7 separate regions of the Homo sapiens genome follow, and all the other regions are linked to region 1. The links are contacts of gene promoters, found by promoter capture Hi-C in blood cells and fetal thymus (Javierre and others, 2016). All regions are on one chromosome and are shown on one strand. Each heading gives the region's core, a stretch centred on a gene start or on the middle of the fragment in contact. The rest is flanking DNA. Distances are from core to core; before and after follow the strand shown. Region 1 holds the start of AUTS2 (activator of transcription and developmental regulator AUTS2). Region 2 overlaps AUTS2 (activator of transcription and developmental regulator AUTS2). Region 3 overlaps AUTS2 (activator of transcription and developmental regulator AUTS2). Region 4 overlaps AUTS2 (activator of transcription and developmental regulator AUTS2). Region 5 overlaps AUTS2 (activator of transcription and developmental regulator AUTS2). Region 6 overlaps AUTS2 (activator of transcription and developmental regulator AUTS2). Region 7 overlaps AUTS2 (activator of transcription and developmental regulator AUTS2).

Region 1 (3,050 bases), core at 407-2,906:
CAACTGTGCCTGCTAAGCCTGGTAAGGCCTAATAATTGTTAAATGAAAAACAATCAATCACTCAATCATAGATGTGTCAGATTGTGAGAGAAAACACGTCCTTACTGTTTTCTCTACCACCCTCCTTCCAGTAATACTAATAAAATGTGCACATTTGTATTCTAAAGAGGTGAAATCATATACACAGCGCTCTAGCACGGTGCCTGGCCCATTGTAATTAATACATGCCAGTTTATTTTCCTTTTCTTCCTCCACAAGTATGGGCTACTAGGGAGGACGAAGGGTTGGTGCCGTGGTGTTTATGTGCCTGGACAGAAAGTGAAGCGTATCCAAGAGGCTGCTGAGAGCGGGCTGTCGGTCTTTCTGATCCGTATAGATCAATTCCAGTGCCCTGAAAAACGCACAGCTATTTTACCCAGAGAGGCTGGTCGCTTTTGTTGATCGATTCTCGGCTGCAGTCAGCTCTTTAATACAACTTTTTATGAGCATCAGCCACATTGCGGCGGGAGGAGGGGCTGTGGTGGAAAAAGCAGGGAAACCGCCCCCCACTCCCAAAAAGTAAAGGAAGCCCGCGGGGCAGGGACTGCGGTTTGCCGGTCTAACGGGTCCTCGAGCTGGGGCGGCGGTCCCGGCCCCTTCGGCCCCGCCCCTCGCCCGCGGCCGCCTCCGAGGTTCAAGTTCGGCCCCCGGCTGTTAGGCCTCGCGCTCCCGGATCTGAAGCCGCCCGTGCGTCCCTAGGTCCCCCGCTGGAAGACGAGGCGGGAATCCCAGGGGTCATCCGGGCGCGGGGTCGCTCGTCCACGCACTGTGGTGCCACGTGGAGGAAAAGTTTCCAACTCTGCCAGTTGGTGCTCCCACTGCGCCCAGGCGGAGCAAAGGCCCGCGCTTTGGCACCCGCTCCCCGTTCTGTCTCCTCCAGTCGCGCCCCCTCCCAGGGACGCCCCCCTTGTACCCCTTCTCTGAATTCCCTTCTCTCCTCGCAGCGCAGGTAGCCAAGGGAAAACACCCTTGGGGGCTGGTGGGGCTTCCCGAGAAGGCGGCCTCGGGCCGGCCAGGGGTAGAGGATCCAGGGACAAGTGTCCCGAGGAGGATGTGGGGGGCGCGCGCGCGAAGTGGCCTGGGAGCAGGGGCCCACACGCGTCCCCGCTGCGACAGGCGGGATCCTCCGGCGGCTTCCACGCCCTGGCGCGCCAACTCTGCCCGGCCGCGGCCGACCCCACGCGGGCGCCCCCTCCACGCCCCCGCCCCCGCCCCCCTCACAGCTCCCCACCGCCCCCAGTGCGCAGGCCCGGCCGCCCCAGCGCGCATGCCCTGGGCTCGCGAGCGCGGCCAGCCCCCAGCCTTTTGCTTTCTACACACTCTACAACTGGGGAGGGGGCGGGGGAGGAGGGAGCCCAGCCGTCCACGTGATCCCGCCGGCCGGGGCCGCGGGGGCGGGAGCGCGCGCCGAGAGAGGCGCGGGGAGGGCGGGTGCGCGGGAGCGCGCGCACTCGAGCGAGCGAGCGAAAGCACGAACGAGCGAGCGAGCGAGCGAGCGAGCGGGCGGGCGCGGGGTTGGGCTGAGGCGGGCGGCGGCGGCGGCGGCGGCGGTGGGCTGGCCGCGGAGGGGGAGGAGCGGGAGCTGCGCGAGGCAGGCGGGCGGGCGGAGGATGGGGCAGTGCCCGGGCTCCCGCTGCAGCCGCCCGGGGACACGCCGTGCACCCTCCGGCTCGGGGCTTTCTCGGCGGCGGCGGCGGCAGCAGCAGCAGCGTTAGCGGCGGCGGCGAGAGCAGCGTTCCCGGCTGCGCTTCTCCCTCAGGCGGGGCGGCGAGAGAAGCGGCGGCGGCGGCGGCGGCACACCGGTGTCTCTCCCGCTGGAGATTTCTTTCTGCTTTCCTCATCGACTGACTGACTCACCCCCTCCCTTTTTTGAGGAAGGGTGACCTCTTCTCTGGGACTGGAAAAAATATTTTTGTGAGGAGGGGGGCGGGTGGCAGCGACAGGGTTTGCTTCTTCTCTTCTTTCATCTCCCTCTCCTCCCCCCTCGAAGACCGAAAAGCAAACCCCACAACTGCTCCAGCAGCATCCTCCTTCCCTTCCTCCGCCTCCCTTCTCCTCCGCCGCTCGCAGTTTCGCCCTCTCTTCCGCTAATGATTGCATTATTATGCTCCCCTCTCTGGGGGGTCTCGCCCCTCTTGGGTCGCTCCGGAGCCCCGGCCTCCCCTGGCTGCATTTCTTAAAAATTTGGGAGCCTGGGAGTGAGTTTTCTCCGAGGCGTGTGTGAGAGGCGGCGGGGGTGTTTTCCTGCGCGAGGGGCGGGTGAAGTTCATTGCCCCCACTTTTCCCGCGACCTTTTTCGGACCCGATTTTGGATCGAGTTGAGGGGGGCGCGGGCGTTTTCGGGGGGCGGGGGGCGCGGCGGAGAATGGCCGCGGGGAGGGCTCCCCGGAGCCTCCCAGTCTCTTGATCAAAGCATTCCGCTATTCTGATTTATTGCTTGCTTGGTGAGTTATTTTTTTTTCCTCTAAAGGAGACCTGTGTGTTCAGCCATTACTTTGCTCGGCGCTGCTCCCAGGCATCTCCGACCCTCGGTGCTGTGGGGAGCCCCACACTTGGGCTCCTCGCCTCTCGCCCTCGCTCCCCGTCCCTCCTCCCCTCTCTCCGCCCCTTCCCCCTTTTCTTTCTCCTCTCTTTCTTCCCCTCTCTCCCTTCTTTCGGCCGCCGTCTCCCCCGCGCCCTCCTCGGGGCGGAGGGAAGCCGTGAAGGGGGAGGGAGGGCTCGGTGTCAATTTTTTTTTGTGTGGCTGCGGCCGTAGCCTGTGGCGGGCAAGCGGGGAGACCCCGGCGCAGCAGAACCATGGATGGCCCGACGCGGGGCCATGGACTCCGCAAAAAGCGGCGGTCGCGGTCGCAGCGAGACCGGGAGAGGCGCTCCCGGGGCGGGCTGGGGGCCGGCGCGGCCGGCGGCGGCGGGGCTGGCCGGACCCGGGCGCTCTCACTCGCCTCGTCGTCGGGCTCCGACAAGGAAGACAATGGGAAGCCCCCGTCCTCCGCCCCGTCCCGGCCCAGACC
Region 2 (3,050 bases), core at 193-2,692, 410 kb after region 1:
TCCTGGTCTTAAGCAATCCTCCTGCTTCGGCCTCCCAAAGTGCTGGGATTGTCAGCATAAGGCACTACGCCTGGCTGAGGACATTTTTAAAGGTGTATACTTCACCATATTCTCTTTTCCTCTACATGAAGTTTAGCAATGTTCAAGATGGTGGCCACTCCATCCCCCTTGATGACTGAGTGACTGTGATGAGCCGAGCACCTGCTGACTCACAACAGCCATAGAGACATAAGAGTGTGAACAAGAAATAAGCCTTTGTTATTTTTAGCCATGGAGATTTTGCAGTTGATACTACAGCATTATGTAGCCTATCCTGAATGAGGTAGGATCATAATAATATGTTTGTTATGCATCACACAAGTTTTTGGGTTGTTTCAATCTAAAGATCTGAAATTATACCCAAACTAGATATTCTCCAGTATCACCAAACAGGATCTATCCATTCTACAGTGCTCACCAGATTGCTTCTGTCATACTTCACCTGGACATCTGTGGATTCTGGATATTAGAAATTGGAAGGAAAAGCTTGTAAGGGGATCTCAGTGCCCAGGGTCAAAGCTTCATTGTTGGGCAGCCAAGGAAGAGATTTGCTTGACTTACTTGAGTAATTTTTGACACATACTTGATTTGGTCATCAGGCATAAAGGATGGCCAGATTACTAGTAACTTATTGGAGATACACTTTTAAAATAGGAGTTAAGGCTACTTATGTGTTGATCTGAAATTAAGAAAAGGGCAAGATTTCTCCCTGTGGCCTGATTTTCAACCATGACTAAATAAAGCCTGAGGGGAGCCACTGAGGATGGAAAAGGTCACTCAGTCTTTTTTGCTGATGAAAAAATCGAGTTGTCTAGCTCTGGATTGACATCCAGCACTGACATGCTTTAGGAAACAAATCTTTTGATGGCAAAACTCTCACTAGCCTCACCTCTCCTCTCCTTTCCTCTCTCCTCTCCTCTCCTCTCCTCTCCTCTCCTCTCCTCTCCTCTCCTCTCCCTCATTTTTCCCTTTTCTACTCTCCCACTTCTACCCTCATTTACTTATTTCTCAATTTAGCTCATCAGGGCTTTTTGTTACAAAAAAATGGTGTGTAAGTTACTTAGCTGTAACTTGGAAACTGTTTTCCCATGAATAGATGACAGAATTACTACATGCCAAATTATCCCAGAATAGGTGGCTTAACCAATTGTATAATTAAGTTACTTTAATAATTACCAAGAGGGTCCTGAGCCCCATGGAAACCTTCACTGCTTGGAGGATGTATAAATGGAAGGTGGGCAGCATGAGTCTTTTGGACTGGTGGCCGGAACAAGCAGTTCTTAGCTTTTTTTAAAATCATCTTTCATATTTCAGAGCAATTCTTTGCATAATCCAGATTGCTTCTGTCATCCTTCACTTGATCATCTGTGGATTCTGAGCTTCAGGGTGGCCATGCGACCTTTCAGCCCTTGCTGTGGAAGGTGGAGCTCCTACCATCTCTGCCTGTGTTGGGGCTAGACGAAGTTTCCCTCTGACTGCCTCAATCTTTTCACTGTCATGTGTCCTGGGAGCCTCCTACACAGTGGAGAGGAGGGAGTATGAGTCTCAGGAACCATTGAGTTTTTTCACTGTGAGGTGGGACAGGCCTAAATTTCTCCCCTTAGGCCTGCCATTCACTGAGGGTGTGCAGTCATCATGCTAAGTTCTCTTTCTTGCTCCATTTTCATCTTCACTCACCCCTTACTTTCTGCAAAGCGTTGATGGTGTTGGGTTCTGACAGTTACCAGTTGGGGCATTTGTGATCTGTGGAGAAGGCAGAGATAGTTAATGAGTAGGCACATTTGCTAACCTCCTTGGACAGGAATAAGTTCAAAGGGGTGGACAAGCAGGATTGGCTGGAGGAGGCAGGTCTCCACATTGTTCTCTCTTGCCCCTGGGCCCTGGCGTCCAGGGTAATTTTTGTCTGCCTTTGTGGTTCATATTTTTAGCTCTCTGTAAGAGGCCCCCTTGGTAAATATGTCAGTTCATTGTTAAACCTAGACATGAGTTTGACATCTATTTTGTGAAACAAACCATGTAAAAATATGGGTCTTTATGGTGTTCAGTGTTCCAAAGTCAGGAATTTTTTAGTTTCTTTTGTCTTCACTTCTTGTTATTCTCTCACTTGCTTTACTTCTTCCAGCCTTTTCCTTTTCCACCTCATCTCCTGCTTCTTATTTCCTCATCTCTTTTTCCTTACCATTTTTTCCTCTTCCATTTCTCCCTTGATCTTTTCATTATATTCAATTCATTTCATTCATTGAATGGTGTTAGAAGAGGCTTTGTCTTTGCAGTCAGAAGGCTCAGGTGAAGCTTCATATTTCAAAGCACACTATGCTGACACTAAGAAAACATCTTGCCCGGGCACTTCAGTTGAAGAAAACTATATGATGTGATCAGTATGTGATGATGGCTTTTCAGATCAGATAGCTGGGTTGTATTTATAATTTATTTCTCTTATCAGTGAAAAAGATAAATGATAATGTAGTAACAGGATTTTCTAGAGTTTGGGTTGTAGAGAAATAAGTGCTCATGAATAGGACCGCATATGTGTGCATGTATGTGTGTTTTGGGGGTATGGAGAAAGAGGAGGAAAAGAATATTTTATAGAGAAAATTTCCATATGGTTACCTTTTATAGGATCTAGCACATTTCAATGAAAACACACTTTGCTGGAAGAATTCAATTCTCTGTAAAGTTTGGTGCAGCAAGGGGTGAAAATGTGGGGACACAGCTGGAAACTTATTTGTGCTGCAGGCTTGCAGCTGTACCTACCTGTGATGCGATGAATACTATTTGATTGTTAATGTCTTTCTGTTACTGAAAGCTTGCTTCCTTTCCTAAAGCTGATGGTAACAATTTACTGACTGTCTAAACCTTGAGGACTAACTTGGGCTGGGAAAAATAAATCCTGTCTCCTGAAATTTACATCTTATTAAAACTCAAAGCAGCCAGCAGAGATGAGAAGGATCTCCAGCCTGGGAGCTGGAGGTGGGAATTCTGCTCAAGTCAAGATCGCTTTTAGCTTTCCT
Region 3 (3,050 bases), core at 162-2,661, 380 kb after region 1:
ATCTACCATTTTTTGTTTTGTGTTTTTGTTTGTTTGTTTTTTGAGATGGAGTCTCTCACTCTGTCGCCCAGGCTGGAATGCAGTGATGCCACTGGGTTCCAGTGATCCTCCAGCCTCAGCCTCCTGAGCAGCTGGGATTACAGGCACCTGCCACCATGCCCAGCTAATTACATCAACCTTTTAAAACTTATTTTTCTCTCTAGAATTTGTTTGTGTGCACTTAAAGAGTAAGTGGGAGGATCTCAAGACAGTACAGAAAGAGTTGGACATCTAGTTCAGTTTTGCAGAGGGAGTGCAGAGAAACTTCCTTGGAGTTATATAATTGATTTTTGGAACCTCATTTGTAGGATAGTTGTGTGGAGAAAGGCATTCAAATTGCATTCACTGTACTTCTTAGGCCAAGGTAGATCTGGTTATGTACATACTTGTTATTTGGTAGAATACTGCTTATGTTGGCATTATCTTTTCCATACTACATTTATGAACTGGAAACAGTTAAAGCTTGAAACTGTTAAAAAAAAAAAGTGTACGCTTACATTGTATGTATTAGAAGTCATATGATTACACATCCTCATCCTCTCACCAGTCCTTTCATGTAGAGCAGCGGTTTGCATCTTTGGCTATACATTGGAACTACCTTGGGAATTAAAAAAAAAATTGATGTCCAAGTATCAACTCTGGAGATTCTGATTCAGTTGATCTGGGATGAAGCCTTGGCGTCAATTTTTTTAAAAAGATCCCCAGGAGTTTACAATGTGCAGTGAGGGCTCGTTTTAGAATGGTATATTGATTTGTGTTCCAATTGTTCTTTCTTGCATAAATCACATCTGTAATTCATTGACCACAGTTGTCTATGAGGCTTATTAAAAATGGTATAACAACTTACACATACATGAATAATTGGAATGCAGAATCATTTTAACTTCCCTTTCCCAGTCTTTCTATAGTCAGTTTGTATTTAATTCAACAATTGTTTTTTGAGAGGCCCACATTTATTAAATGTTTATCTTGTCCAGCTTAATTTCTCTAGAAACAAAATCTCACCTTCATTTTGTACTTATCACTGGTTTACATGTGGTAAATAAAATTAGCAGAAACAGGTTTGGGTATGGTCCACTGTGGTACACGGGTGTCTTATAGAGATGAGTATTCATTGGCTATGAAATGTTCAGTAAGTTTTACAAAGGAAACGAAGATCATCAGTTGATCTAGCTGGTCAGTTGGGGTCAGTTAAAAGAGCATTATTGTAAAAGATTTGTGGTTTGCCTGATTTTAGATCAGTTAACATTCACCCATGAGAAGGTAGGATGTATGTCATTTTTATTTTATAAGTGAATATGTAACTGTATTTTTTTATTTTGTATTTAAATTTTTATTCAATATTTCAAATTAATTAATTTCTAATGTTAATACCTAATATACATAGATATAATCAATATGATCACTGTTATCTCTAGAGTGAAGACAGTTTCTTGCCAACAATTTTTATATCCCATTATAACCATCCAGATGAGTTCATTATGGGCTTTCAGTACACACTATCAGCGCTTAAGAGTCTTGAGTTCATTCTGGTCTTTGATTATCACATGTCTTGAAATACACACCACATTAGATTTGTAAATAAATTGTAGAAAAATCTTAAGACTGAAATTTAGATATTAACAAACATTATTTCCTCTTGAGATATGCTAACAGACATCAGAGCATTAGTAGGTCACTAAAGAGTGAAGATGAGTCAGACCCATCAAAATACATATACTCGTTCTACCACTTGATATGTACACACTTCGAGTTGGTAATTTATTCCCAGTTGTTTGTGACGGTTGCATTTGTGCTTATCTTCTCTTAGTTTCACAAGGGTAGCTAATCATGAGTTTTTGTCTGTTTTTGCTGAACTTTACCTACTGTCTTATTAATCTTGTTTATATCAGTGTGAGTTTCTTAAGGACAAGGACTCGTAGGCACCAACACAGAAAGCAATTTTAGGAATATACTGTCTGAATTAAATGTATTAAATCAGTCAACAAATAGGAACCTTTTGAGAAATGGTCCTGAAAACATTTTTGTTTGCTTTTTTTCCTAGAGAGGAAATAAACGGGTTTATAAGCTGCTGAGTGCAAGTATCATGGTCTGTGCCTTTTCTTCTTGACTGCTCTGCTATATTCTCTTTCAGAAAGCTGAGTAGCTCAGCACAGTGAATACTAAAGGGAATGCATTCCTTCTCTCTCAGGGGACTGAAGCAGTGTTTAACACCACTGTAAAATCCTCAGCTGTGGCTTTCTCTGGTGTAGAATTTGTCTAAGAAAGATTAAAAGAACAAGGAAAGCTTTGTGTGCTGTTTCTCTTTCTTTTCTTCACCCCTCCTGCTCCAGGCTATCCTGAGGGGGGAAAAAAAACGTGGAGTATTTTCCTTGGACCTCTGGAGTATGCATGTTATGTATGTGTGAGTCTTAGAGAAAAATAAAGGCAAATGCAAGGCATGCCTGCTAGTGGGAGTCATCACCCATGGGTGAAATGAAGAAAACTACATGAGTGCGTTTGCGTTTATACGGCCACTTTTTCCATTGAATGACCCAAACAAGATGCCAGTGACAAAGCATTGGTCCTACATGTGATAAAACAGCGGCCTGGCCATTTGCTTAATTGGTGGAGAACTCAGGTGTGTTACTCTTGGCAGAGGTGAAAGCCTTCATAGAGAATTAGAAGGGGTATAATTTGGGCACTGTACTCAGAATCTTTCTTGGTATATTGTTTAAGAGCTTCATTGCAGTGACTGCCATTCAGCAAGAAATAAGAGATGACTTTTAAATATTTGGCCAGATTTTATAGTGGCAAGGACAGAGTTTTAGAGCTGAAGAGCCATTTAGTTCAATCCCATCAATCTGCAAATGTGAACAGTAAGCCCAGAATCACATTTAGTGTTAGTGGCCAGAAGGGAGACCTTGGCTATGAACATTTACCCTACCGGAAACTAATGGCGTAACCAGATTTGAACCTTTTCTTCCATTCTGTACTAGGTTGTCTTTTCTTTGTTAGGAAAAGCCTATTAT
Region 4 (3,050 bases), core at 143-2,642, 360 kb after region 1:
CCGGCCAATCCCGACCTGGTATCTTTTTTTGTAAATCGGGTTTTATTGGAACATACCTGTACCCCTTGGTTTATGTATCTTCTGTGGCTGCTTCTTAGCTATAATGGCATAGTTGAATAATTATGACAGAGACTGTATGGCCTGCAAAACCTAAAGTATTTACTTTCTGGCCCTTTACTGAAAACAGGCGTGAACCTCTACTCTAGAATATAAATCAGGACTTGCTTCTGGTGCCACTGCATGATAACTTAGCCATGGACTGTTTGGCTTCTATCTCATGTTCCCTACTTGCAAGAAAATACTTCCATCAGGGCCAAGTGGAGGTGCAGTAGAGCAGGGGCAGAGCTAAAAGCAACACAGCTGGGCACATTTACTTCTTAGGTCTCTACACAAACCATGTAGTGTAAGGAGGAGACAAAGGGCTAGGAGTCCAGAGACTGACACTGTGTGGCCTTCTCTCTGGGCCTGTTTCAGATAGTCACTCTGCAACTACAAGATGGCACTGGATTAGTGATTCTCAGACGTTTTTCTGCACCAAAATCACCTAAAAGGCTGGTTTAACCGACTGCTAGGCTCCACCTCCAAGGTGTCTGAGTCGGTAGGCCTGAGGAAGGCCTGAGAATGTACATTTTTAACAAGTCCTCAGGTAATGCAGGTAGGCAGTATGACTGGATTGTTTTTGTGGTTGCCTGCCTCTTTTTGGCATTGGAAAGGGGAAAGCCAGAGTATTCCTTGAGGAATGACATTTGGAGAGAACCAAATTTTAGATGCTTCTGTGATATGTACACCAGAGCTATTCTGGACTAGATTGTAAATTCTCACATTTCACCTATGCAAAAGGAAATACTTTCTGGTCTCCTATTAGTAATCAGTTGTCTCAAATTTTGCCCGTTACCTCTGGAAATTCTGGACCCTCAAGTGATCAGTCTTTTAAGGCAGTGTGGAAGAACAGCACCTATTATGGCAGTTGATTTTTCATGGTCTCTACCCTGTCCTTCCTAATATAACTGCTATTCTTTACCTTCCTGTTTTTCAAAACTCTCGTATTGTTCCTGTTGTGTTTTTTCTAAATATTTTCTTGGTTACAATAAAGTGCTAATATTTAAAGAGCTTTTGGGAGCCTGCTGGTGCCAGAAACTATTCAAGTTACTTACAGAATACTCTCATTCAGTTCTCTCAAAAATCCTTGGGGAAGTTTTATTTTTCTCATTTTACAAATGAGCAGTAATTACAAATTTGGAGTCAGAGAAGCTAAGTAATATGTGATCTGGACAATTTCAATATCTATGTATATCAAAAACCAAGCTTCCTAGGTCTTTGACCTCCTCTCCAGTATCCCTCACCTTCACCTGCTAAGTATCCATTCTCATTTTGGATCTCGGACTTTGTTATCACCTAGGATTCGCCCAGGATTTCACTTTCTCGGATCATGACCTTCCACATCATACTGTCACTGCATCTCAGGAGTCTGTTTCTTGGAAAAGCTTTACGTCTCTTATCCTTTTTCTTTTCCAACAGAAATACCTTTCTGAACTATTTCTCTCTCTTAAACCTCTTTTAAAATCTGCACACTTCATACTAAATTGTATTGATTATGCTTCTAGTTCCCTAGTACATAATAACCTTTGGAAAAATTGTTTTGTCTTACTAATTGTTTCTATAGAACTCTGTACTGCACCTGGTGTATAGAAGGCACTCCATAAATAATGGTTTAACTGAGCTAGAGAATATATGGCCAGGGTCTGAGTCCGAGTCTGTCTTGCTTCACAGTATGGCTGCTATAGTCAGGTCTGCCACAGCTCTAGGCCTATTTTTTTTTAATCTGTCTGGATGAAGAAGGAATTGTTTAGTAGGTGATGTCATTTGTGGGATGCTTTGTCTATTTCTGCGTATCCAGCATGCTTTTAGTGATTTTTCATTTTGTCAGACTGCATTTTCTCTTTTCAACTAGAGTTCAAACAAAATAATTTTAGATAACATCCTAAGAACATTTGGAAACATGACATTTCAGGTCTATTTTCCCTCTTTGCCTTAAAAAAGTATATACAGCTATAATTACTAATTGCTGCGCTCTAAGTAGAGACAGATGATACATATGTTTGTGACAATTTTCCAGAGGGAGAGCTAAGTAACCAGGCTCATTTTTCCATAATGTGAATGTTATTCACAAACTATTACCATAATTGATGCACCAAACCACTGTAGAGTAAATAATGTGTTGTGTGTGGGAAGCAAGCTAGTAGTCAATGAATATTAAAGAACAAAACCTCATTTTAAAAGAGAAACTGTAATTAAAATCATTCTGAATTCATGCTGCACAACCAGTTAAAATAACTTGGCTGCCATTTATCTGTGTAATTCTGTGTATAAAGGGAGTAGGTATATGATTTGTTATATAGAAGTAAGTATTTACATGCACATTTTTATGAAAAGACACAATATCGAACTTCAGAATCAGTCGTTTTCCAAAAACATTTGTTGGAGAGATGAACATGCAGAGTTAATCAGTGAAATATATATTGACAGGAAAGATCACCATTTCCGTTATCTTATCTTTTGCTTTTCTAGGTGTTTTATGTCTACCTGGAATGTCGTGTCCCTTTCCGTGGACCTAATCAGCTTCTGTATTTTCTCCAAAGCTTCCTTTTCATCAGAAGTTGTTCTTGTCCACTTTTAATCCCTCTTACTGCTTTCTAGGTGCTCATCAACTTCTGTGTGTGGTATATTGATTTGCACTTTTGGGATTTGTTGTTTTATAAGAGGAGGTCATAAGTCATTTCTTGTGTGTATCATTAGTCTTCTCAACGAGACTGCCTAGGATTTCAGTCTCAGATTATTCTATGTGTGTGTTGGGCGTGTATGTATGTGTATCATTCCTTCCGGTGTACCTTGTGGAGAATGGTTTGCTGTCCATGTGTTCGCTAACTCCTCAGTATGTATTGTTGGTTACCTGTTTTCATGCACCAGATACTGCATTATTTTTGTAAAATCTTTACATTTTGTGTTTGGCTACCAGTGTCTCCACAGAGTCTTGAATGTAACTGGTAAGG
Region 5 (3,050 bases), core at 271-2,770, 340 kb after region 1:
TCCCACTGCTCTTTCTGCTCTTCTATAAAACTCCACATTTAATGCCTACACCTTACCAAACTCCAGGAAACTTCCTTGACTCTTGCGGGCTATATGGATCTCTACTTATTTTAGTTTTTGCTGTTGCAGGAGGAAAGTATGATTTTTAAAATACAATAATCCTTTTGTATGTCTACAGAAGAATGTGGTTTGGTGAGTTTTACATTTGATGCATGATTGTATCCACCATTGTGAGATTATAAATAAATCTCAAGACATGACCTTGCCCTGAACCCAAAACTAAACATGAATGAAACTATAGAAATAACTGGATAACCTCTGGTACATAGAGGGTCGGTGTTACAGGGAGATAAGCAGTACACCCTAACCTAGGGAAGTGCAATGAGCAGAGAGGGGATGGAGTATGTAGGTGGAGAAGTGGCTAAGTGTCTTAGATAGACAAGGTGGAACCAAAGTACATAGAGCCTGGAAGCTGCAGAAAAGAACGTAGGCTAAGAAACAAGATCAATTATAGGTGGTTGAGTAGGTGAGTAAGACAGAAATGTGTGAGGTGATTGGAAGGGACTGCTACGATAAGCCAGCTGTGCTTACAATGGTGAAGATAAGGAATGGTGACTTGGGAAGATGTATTGGAGAAAAATGATAGGGCCTGCTGACTGAGCAGCTCAAGCTTTATGGGAACTGCTGATCATGTTTTTAACTGCTATAGATATATTTGATTTAAGTAAATCAATTTGTAAAGATTTAGATTTCATAATGATATCTTAGACCATATTTGCACAGCAAGTGAAACTTAAATACTCTTGTATCCCTATCACATCATGTTATCTTTAACATGTGTATCAACTTTCTTACCTATAAATGCTGGTGACACCTCCCAGTTTTCTAGGCTTAATTTGTAGAGGGCTCAACATGTGAACAATGAATTTGGTGCACCATTCAAGAAGTAAAATTCAATCATTTTTTTCTCCTATTCATTTCTAAGGATAGGAATCTTTGCCTTATAGAAATATTTTAAAGGAGCCCCCTTAAATGTCACACTCTCTTTAGGCTTAAACTATTCTTATTTCCAAAATGTAACATCAGAAGTTCAGAAATTCTTTCTACTTAGGTTCTCTGTGCCCCACACAACCTCACATTTTTGCCTGAGTCTCCCCAGTCTTGCTGCAGGAGCTGGGGTAGCTTCAGCCCACTTACATCCTGCCAGGGGATAAACTTGATACCTTTTGCTTTCATGAAACACTATCTGTGTGAAGTGAGCTCTTTGATCCACAGTCTTTTATGCTGAAGCTAAGGGAGGATTAAGGAACACCTCTGAGTTGATGAATATTTGATGAGGTTTATATAATTTAAAATTACACTCTTGTTAACCCTTTCACTCAATGGAGAGAGAAGAGAAACTTGTATAATCGTGGTTCCTACTTAGGCATAAGGTACTGTGTCTTCTCTGGGTGCATCCTCCTTATCTATGTAGAGCAGAGCATGGGAACTTAGTAAATGTCAATTGATGATTGGCATTTTTTACAGCTTCATAGAGAGAAATATCTCTTTGCTTCATTATAACCATACTGAGTGAGATGCTGAAGTGGAATTGGGATCACACAGTATCTGTGTATTTGACATTGCATGTATAATGGTGAACAAGGCAGATATTCCACTCATCATAACAACAACAGTAGTAATCATACCACCAGGAAGCATTCTTTCAGTGCTTACTGTATGCAAGGCTCTATTCTAAACTCTTTTCATCCATTTTAATTCTTAGAACAAACTTATAAGGTAGATGCTATTATTATCATTTCTATTTTATAGGTAACACAACCCAGGCACAAAGAGACTAACTCCCACAAGGTTTCACAACTTACAAATAGCAGAGTCAGGATTTGAACCTGGGCAGGCAGTTCTCAGAGCCTGCGTTCCTAACTTCTGGCTGGACCCCTCATGGTGAGAAGGGCAGAGAGTTGACAAATCCTCTGAAGTATGGTGAGTTCTGTAGGAGTCTGCAACAGGGCGAATTAACCTAGGGAAGAGGAAGGCTGGGAAGGCTTTCCTGAGAAAATGTCTTTTGGGATGAAACATGAAGGATGAGTAGGTGCTCTCTAGGTGAGGGCTCATGGACAAAACTATTCCAACATGTGTAGTGGCCACAGGCTGGACAGAATAAAATAGGTGATTTGGAGGAACAACAGAGAGAAGCCCATTAGGGGTAGAGAAAGTGAGAGAGTGTGTGTCATGGAGTGATGCCACAGGGGCCAAATCATGAAGTCCTCCGTAGGTCCCACTTCCAGGATGTGGGTCATGGAAATATAAAGGGCTAAGGACAAACGGAGCATTCAAGGGGTAGAACCATGGGTATAACATGATGAGATGTAAGCTTTAACGTGTTTCTCACTAGTGATGTGTCTAAGTCATAGAGGGAGACAGTAGAGGACAAGAGTGCAGTCAGGCAGCTGATGCTGTAATCCAGGTGAAGGAGGATGGCAGCCTGGACCAAGGTAGTAGAGGTAAGGATGGATAGAAGCTTAGGAGCTTATTAGGATGCAGATAATAGGAGTTCTGGATGTGGGAGATGAGGGTGAGGGAGGAACCAGTAACAATGCCTATGTTAACAGTCAGAAGAAGGTTACAATGTAACCAGACTGGAACATGAACAAATTATCTGCAGTGGAGCTTATTTGCTCAAAAGAAGGATCCTGCAAGAGAACATGGATGGCTTGTGTCATCCAAATATGGATGGCTTTGCCCAGTTAGAGAATAATTCCTGCTGAGAGAATACACATGCACGCAAGCATGTACACACGCACACACATTTGTTGTAGAGGGTTATACCCTCCCAAGTTAAGGTAATTTCATAATTGAGGTCGACCCTCTCGATGTGGTACCATTGATAAGCCCCAGCACTACAGTTCAGCTACCAACACTGAGTTTCTCATTGAGTCAAAGCGTGGGATGATCTGACAGCGTCAGCAGCACTGCACAACAGTGGGAGGGACGGATGAATGCCACATCTATAAGGAATTGCCACTTGGATTCAAGAGGAAAAGGGGTAA
Region 6 (3,050 bases), core at 185-2,684, 300 kb after region 1:
GACTATGTACCCCAGAAATGAAAAAATTTTTAAAAAGTTCATTTAGGACTGCAGAAACTGAGGAAGTGTGGTAAGGCTTCATGAGGGGGATTTTCTGTGTAAGAGGATTAGATCCACTAGTTTCCAAATAACTGAGTGCCAAAACATTTTCATTTTATTGCTTAGTGTGTGCATCATTTCTCACAGGGCAGAGGATATTTGCATGTATGTGGTTTGTTTGATGTTCTGAGAGCCCATTTTGCACGTGGTCTCAGAGTTGTAGTGACTTACTCCACTTCTGATAATGAATAATGTCAGTGTCCGGACACTAAAAGCCCAGTCTGTTGGAACCTTGGTGTGTACTGAGCTGCCTGGAGGCACAGAACTCTTATCAGGTCATGTGGCCTGAAATGCTTACCTGTAGTTTCTACAGATGCAGTTCCCCATTCAAGGACATTGATTTCCCATTTCCTACCCACCTCCCCTCATCCCCAACCACACACAGGAATAAATTAAAAGTTGCTGTTGATCTTGGTGATAATATTGTTGTTACATTTTGCAAAGAAAATGGAAATAAAGGATGCTTAGAGGAACATGTAAAAAAATATAATGCATTAAGGAAACATTTTAATCATATGAATAGACAGTTCTTTCTTGCTGGCTCACATCCACCTGGACCTGATAAATTCAGTTGGGTGCTATTTCTTTTGAATTGAGCATGCACTTAGTGCTCATTTTCTGAAACATAATTGATGTACCAACTTGGGAAATGAGTGTATTGCACTTCCTTGGGGAAGGTCATTGTGTGCTGGACCCAGCACCAAATCGAACAGAAAGCTGCTATCCCAGGGAGCAGTGAAATCACTTTTGATGCATATACTTGTGTTTTGTTTAGTTTTCTGCCCAGTAATAATAGAAAGGATATATATATTTGTGATGGCATTAAGGATTCAGGAAAATTGAGAAGCCATGTTTCTTAGTTTTGGGTCTTCTCATATCCCACTTTCCTATCCCTCTCCCACTTAGTAGTAACACCCTTTAGTATTTAGCCTATATTTTGGGTGTGACCCTAGATACCTTTGTAACCACCACTTCCCTTTCCTTCTCTTCTTTTCTACAGAAAGATGTAGCACTTAAGCCTCAGGAACGTGTGGAGAAACGCCAGACGCCCCTGACCAAGAAGAAACGAGAAGCACTTACCAATGGCTTGTCCTTTCATTCAAAGAAGAGCAGACTCAGCCACCCACACCACTACAGCTCAGATCGAGAAAATGACCGCAATCTCTGCCAGCACCTTGGGAAGAGAAAGAAAATGCCGAAGGCACTCAGACAGGTGAGGAAGCTTGGGTTCGCTCTTTCCTGTGGCGGCAAAATCCCTTCCTTAGGTGCTTCCTCCACTGTGGTTTTTCGTAACAGGTGGAGAAGATATCCTTGGTGGGATGCTGAAGTGGTTGTCCAACAAAGCTGTGTGCGTGCCTTTAAAAGAATCTAAAACCCAATCTCAGCTCTTTCTATGAGGATTTGAAACTTCAGCATGGTGCCCTTTCAGTCAGATGTGCTTTATGCAACAAAGCTTGATGCTAAGTGGTACTGGTATTTAGGGCAGACCTGTCTTAACAGTTGTCAAGATGGACTGGCTTGCAGGGGAGAGATCTTTGCAATTAGGATAAATGGAACAGGTGGATTTCATCACATACATTGTGCATCTCATGGTTCTAAGGTGCTAAAATGATTGCCTGTGTGTGAGAAATGCCTTGCTAAGATTTATATTTTCCGGGGAAGCTCAGATATTGTGGCATCTGGGAGGGCAATGGCAAAAAATGAATTTGCCTTTTGGTGTCTTAGTTGTTCTCCATAGGCTATAATTCAAGACTATCTTTGTGATCTGTTGATTGTATGAACGTCTGATAATGAGGCTTACTGGCCTGTTAATAATTAGGTTTCAATGATCCACAAGAAAGTATGGCTCTTGGCATTTGGGAAGCCTTTCTGCCTGTGGAAATCCCCACATGAGATGGATTAATAATGAGATATGAAGCTGTTTATAGCAGTTTTTCTGCACAAATCCAGAGGCTTCAGTGCCTGTCAAGTTAGTTACCTGTGTCCTGGGTGTGTTTTATTTATTTTTGGCAGGACCATTGGGTAGGATTGACTATCACTGAAGAAAGCAGAGGAAGGAATTGTGGTGTACAGAGCAGGTGCTGCTAATTAGAGGTGGAATAGGTAATTTTTGGTTTGCAGATGTTTCTCTGCAGAGGCAGGGAGATCTGGGATCAAACAAAACAATGGTTCCCAAACCACACAGATCTTGAGAATCATATAATGAGAGCTACTAAACCTAAATTTCTGGCCCCTCTTTAGGACCTAATGACATTTGTAGTTTTAGAAAGTTTCCTATTTGAAAACAGTCAGCCTGGTTGGAAGTCACTCTTACAAAGAATCAAGAGTGTATTTGGGTGATGGTTTTTAGTTAAAAGATTGGAAAGATCAAAAGCCTCAATATGATGTAGTGGGCAGTTTGGTGTCAGAATTCTGCCTTATACGTAGTGAAGCATATAATCCTGGTAAAACATCTGGGGTGATGGGTTTCAGATGGACCCAGAAGGCTTCCAAGGTAATGCCTAAATCTGACAACCAGCACAGTGTTTCCAAAGGTACACTTGTGTCCTGAAACGCCAGACTGGAGTTATAATAGTAATTATTAACATTTACCTAATGCATACTATGCTACATTCAGTGAGGGAGTTTTTATAGTATAACCTATAATTTGTACAACAACCCTGCCTAGTAGGTAATATCATGGTTACTTAACAGCTATGGAAACGAGGGCTCAAAGAGATAAAGTGACTTGTCTGAGGCCTTGTCAATGAGGGAAGGAGCCAGGGTTTAGACCCAGATATCTCTAGTTCCGTGGTTTGTTCTGTTTTCCATATTTAGATGAAGTTTTATTTATTTTTTTCTTGATAGGGAGTTGGGGAGAGGGAGGAAAGCCTAAGTTCTATAAAAGGTGATGTTCCTGTGGTATTTGTGACTCCTAACTCATGCCTCTGTGTGAGATATGTGAGAAAAGT
Region 7 (3,050 bases), core at 185-2,684, 280 kb after region 1:
GTTGAAAAGAGATTAATGATAGAATCAGTGGTAAATGCTTTTTCAGGACTTCTTTTTGCCTCTCTCTGGTAGCAGTTAACATGATGGTCCTTTTAATTTTGGATCTATCAGGAGTACAAAGTATTGCTCTCTTCCCATGCCAAACTTTCCTAAAGTTTCCATCTTTCCATATGGTGATAGGAAATGCCTCCCCCCACAGCCCTGTCTCAGAACTTTCTCTTATTTGCATGTCTCATAAATTACAGAAGGCAGATTTAGGAAGAAATGCTGGAACTTTATATGGTGCTAGTATTTCAAGGAGCAAATTGTACTTTCTTCGCATTATTTCTCAGGTTAAATAGACCAAGTGGACCAGGCGTGGTGGCTCACACCTGTAATCCCAACACTTTGGGAGGCCGAGGTGGGTGGATCACATGAGGTCAGGAATTTGAGACCAGCCTGCCAACATGGTGAAACCTCATCTCTACTAAAAATACAAAATTAGCTGGGAGTGGTGGTGCACGCCTGTAACCCCAGCTACTCAGGAGGCTGAGGCAGGAGAATCGCTTGAAACTGGGAGACGGAAGTTGTAGTGAGCTGAAATCAGGCCACTGCACTCCAGCCTGGGCAACAAGAGCGAAACTCTGTCTCAAAAAAAAAAAAAAAAAAAAAAAAAAAGACCAAGTGATAGGCTGGGCGTGCTGGCTCATGCCTGTAATCCCAGCACTTTGGGAGGCTGAGGTGAAAGAATTGATTGCTTGCTCAGGAGTTTGAGACCAGCCTGGGCAACATAATGAGACCCCATCTCAATGTAATAAATAAGTAAATAATTTTTTTAAAAAGTGAAAAGAAAAAATAGGCCAAGTAATACAGCCATCTTAAAAATAAAAACAAAAATGGAATAGAGAAGTATGTTAACCTGCAACCCCAAGGCAACACTATAAGTCCTGGGTCATGCTCAGACCACATTCTAGGCTTCTGCTTTCAGTTCTGTTCACATGAATGAGAACATGAATGCTAGAGCCACGCAGGTCTGTGTTGAGTCCTGGTATTGTCTTTTCATAGCTATGTGACCTTGGGAATATTAATTAATAGTAATAAAAATAATTAATTTGGACTGAACTCCTAATACATCCTAGGCATTACATTAACTAATTTAATCCTAATAGCTGCTTCATAAGTTAGGTGATATTATTCGCTCCATTTTATATATGAGAAAACTGAAGCTTCACAGGGTATTGTAGTAATTAAATGAGGTATTATAAATAAAATATCCAGTATGTTGCTTGGCACATTCAATGACACTCATTAAACACAATCTTGAGGATATATGGAGAATAGATCCCACCATTGTTCCTCCAATGCCAAATGTAACCTTTTAGAATGACAGTTTCCCTTTTTAATGACTTACCAGTCATTAATTGTATCAGTCAGGAAGAGGAATTCCTCACATTTATTTGTAATTTATTTACTGCCTGTACCAGGAAGTATCCCAAGCACTTTCCACAAATTTCATTAAACTTTCTATTCCTGTATTCCAGGAGAAGAAATGGAGGCTCATAAGGGCCAAGGCATTTGTTCATGTTCGTAAAGCCAGAAGGTGGGAAAGCCAGTTCTCGGACTCAGATGTAACCGCCACCAATAAAGAGTAGGGATAGCAGTGAAGTGGTCTATTTTCCTGGAATGAAGCTTCTATGGTGGGAAGTAATCTAAGCAACTGATTAAGGAGCCAGCTTTGTGCACTTCAAAGCAGCCTCAGCTTCGGGGTGGAGCATAGAGTTCCTTTTTTTTTTTTTTTTCTTTAGCAGGCAGGAAGATATTCTTATTCCCAAAGAACTGAGAAATATTTGAGACTATCCATAGTACTCATTGGTGCTGTAAGGTTAGATAACTGCTGAGAAGAAAACTGATTGCTCTGTGTAAATCAGTATGCTGATGAGGGAATGATAAAACTGCAGGGTAGTACCAGCGTCAGCATCTTGTTTCCAACCCAGCTCTTCTCTCTCTTGACAAAACAGCTGTCATTTTGGATTAATGTTGAAATCACCAGAATCTGCTGGTCATCAGAGCAGGGCCGATGCCATCTTTGGGATGAAGTGTGCTGGCAACAAGATAGAAACTGGACATGGGAAAAAGGAAAGTCTCCCTCAAACATGCTGCCATCCAAGGCCCAGTTTAAACCACAGGCTCAATTTTTGCTCCCAAACTGATTTCCCGACTAACCCATCTGCTCATGCACACACCCTCCCAACCTCACACAGCAGGCCTGGCCTTTATCATTTCAGGTCCTGCAGAGCTGTTCTCTCTCACTGTGGTACTGATGCCAGTTTTAACAGCCGCCATGTGTATTGACTCCTCTACCGATTACAAATATATACGCGTTTGCCAGTTTGTTTAGTGAGTGGTTTTCATAGGCTGTGATGGGGATTTCACTTTCATGAATATAATTTGCTGAGCCTGTGGTGACATCAATAAATCCTTCTGGGATGGGGAATGGTTGATTTCCCTACATCCAGATGACATCCTCCAGCCCACTTCCTTATGGGACCAACAGCCAATGTCATAACACATGCTTCTTTGTGAGAGCATGGAAGGAAATTGTTTAAAGTGTGTCATCTGTGGGCACAGTTTCTAAGGTAGATACCTGTGAGGATGTATAGGCATGCTTTAGACATGGACAGAATGAGTTATGTACTTAGTAACTCAAAACTCTGCTGAGCTCATTGTGGACAGCTCTTACAGATAAACTAAAATGCAGCTTCTTAAAAAATGAGAGGACATTTGCAGAAAGCATTCTTACTGCTTTCAGCAAATCTATGTGCCTTATGTTTTTATATAGCAGTCATTTTCTCAAATCAGACATCCCTATTGCCTATTAGATAAACACAGAAAGCATAGATTATGAGTTTAAAAGTATCGACAGCATTTCAAGTGCTATCAGAGAACATTTAATTCAGTTTAATTTTGTGATAAATCTCACGTTTAATCCTCTGGTTACCCTGTAATCATGTCTCTATTGATCTTTTCTGAATGACTGCCTGCAGTTTAATAAACTTTGCCATTAACCCAGA

The links. Contacts are between HindIII fragments. The CHiCAGO score rates a contact against its expected background, and 5 or more counts as called.
Region 2: a contact is called between a fragment that was not itself captured here and the fragment with the promoter of AUTS2 in region 1, in 1 of 17 cell types (fetal thymus). The highest score is 9.0, in fetal thymus.
Region 3: a fragment that was not itself captured here is called in contact with the fragment with the promoter of AUTS2 in region 1 in 1 of 17 cell types (fetal thymus); the score reaches 6.1 in fetal thymus.
Region 4: a contact is called between a fragment that was not itself captured here and the fragment with the promoter of AUTS2 in region 1, in 1 of 17 cell types (fetal thymus). The highest score is 7.9, in fetal thymus.
Region 5: a contact is called between a fragment that was not itself captured here and the fragment with the promoter of AUTS2 in region 1, in 1 of 17 cell types (fetal thymus). The highest score is 5.9, in fetal thymus.
Region 6: a contact is called between a fragment that was not itself captured here and the fragment with the promoter of AUTS2 in region 1, in 1 of 17 cell types (fetal thymus). The highest score is 5.2, in fetal thymus.
Region 7: a contact is called between a fragment that was not itself captured here and the fragment with the promoter of AUTS2 in region 1, in 1 of 17 cell types (fetal thymus). The highest score is 6.8, in fetal thymus.

What each region holds. Positions count from the first base shown.
Region 1 is chr7:69,596,819-69,599,868 of GRCh38, forward strand. AUTS2 (activator of transcription and developmental regulator AUTS2) reads left to right here and starts at 1,657. Exons shown (of 19, transcript NM_015570.4): 1 at 1,657-3,050. The coding sequence starts at 2,836. CT66 (cancer/testis associated transcript 66) reads right to left here and starts at 806. Exons shown (of 3, transcript NR_148927.1): 1 at 229-806. RefSeq lists enhancers at 827-906, 2,087-2,136 and silencers at 1,217-1,636, 1,657-1,736, 2,901-2,970. The HindIII fragment of the contact is 6,527 bases long and covers 1-3,050 here.
Region 2 is chr7:70,010,370-70,013,419 of GRCh38, forward strand. All of the region lies in intron 2 of AUTS2 (activator of transcription and developmental regulator AUTS2), which reads left to right. Among named protein-coding and RNA genes, the nearest start is that of AUTS2, 410 kb to the left of the region's middle. The HindIII fragment of the contact is 1,773 bases long and covers 557-2,329 here.
Region 3 is chr7:69,980,083-69,983,132 of GRCh38, forward strand. The region is part of intron 2 of AUTS2 (activator of transcription and developmental regulator AUTS2); the gene reads left to right. Among named protein-coding and RNA genes, the nearest start is that of AUTS2, 380 kb to the left of the region's middle. The HindIII fragment of the contact is 1,825 bases long and covers 500-2,324 here.
Region 4 is chr7:69,958,168-69,961,217 of GRCh38, forward strand. All of the region lies in intron 2 of AUTS2 (activator of transcription and developmental regulator AUTS2), which reads left to right. Among named protein-coding and RNA genes, the nearest start is that of AUTS2, 360 kb to the left of the region's middle. The HindIII fragment of the contact is 179 bases long and covers 1,304-1,482 here.
Region 5 is chr7:69,938,288-69,941,337 of GRCh38, forward strand. The region is part of intron 2 of AUTS2 (activator of transcription and developmental regulator AUTS2); the gene reads left to right. Among named protein-coding and RNA genes, the nearest start is that of AUTS2, 340 kb to the left of the region's middle. The HindIII fragment of the contact is 1,704 bases long and covers 669-2,372 here.
Region 6 is chr7:69,898,187-69,901,236 of GRCh38, forward strand. AUTS2 (activator of transcription and developmental regulator AUTS2) reads left to right here. Exons shown (of 19, transcript NM_015570.4): 2 at 1,100-1,312. Among named protein-coding and RNA genes, the nearest start is that of AUTS2, 300 kb to the left of the region's middle. The HindIII fragment of the contact is 231 bases long and covers 1,320-1,550 here.
Region 7 is chr7:69,881,521-69,884,570 of GRCh38, forward strand. The region is part of intron 1 of AUTS2 (activator of transcription and developmental regulator AUTS2); the gene reads left to right. Among named protein-coding and RNA genes, the nearest start is that of AUTS2, 280 kb to the left of the region's middle. The HindIII fragment of the contact is 463 bases long and covers 1,204-1,666 here.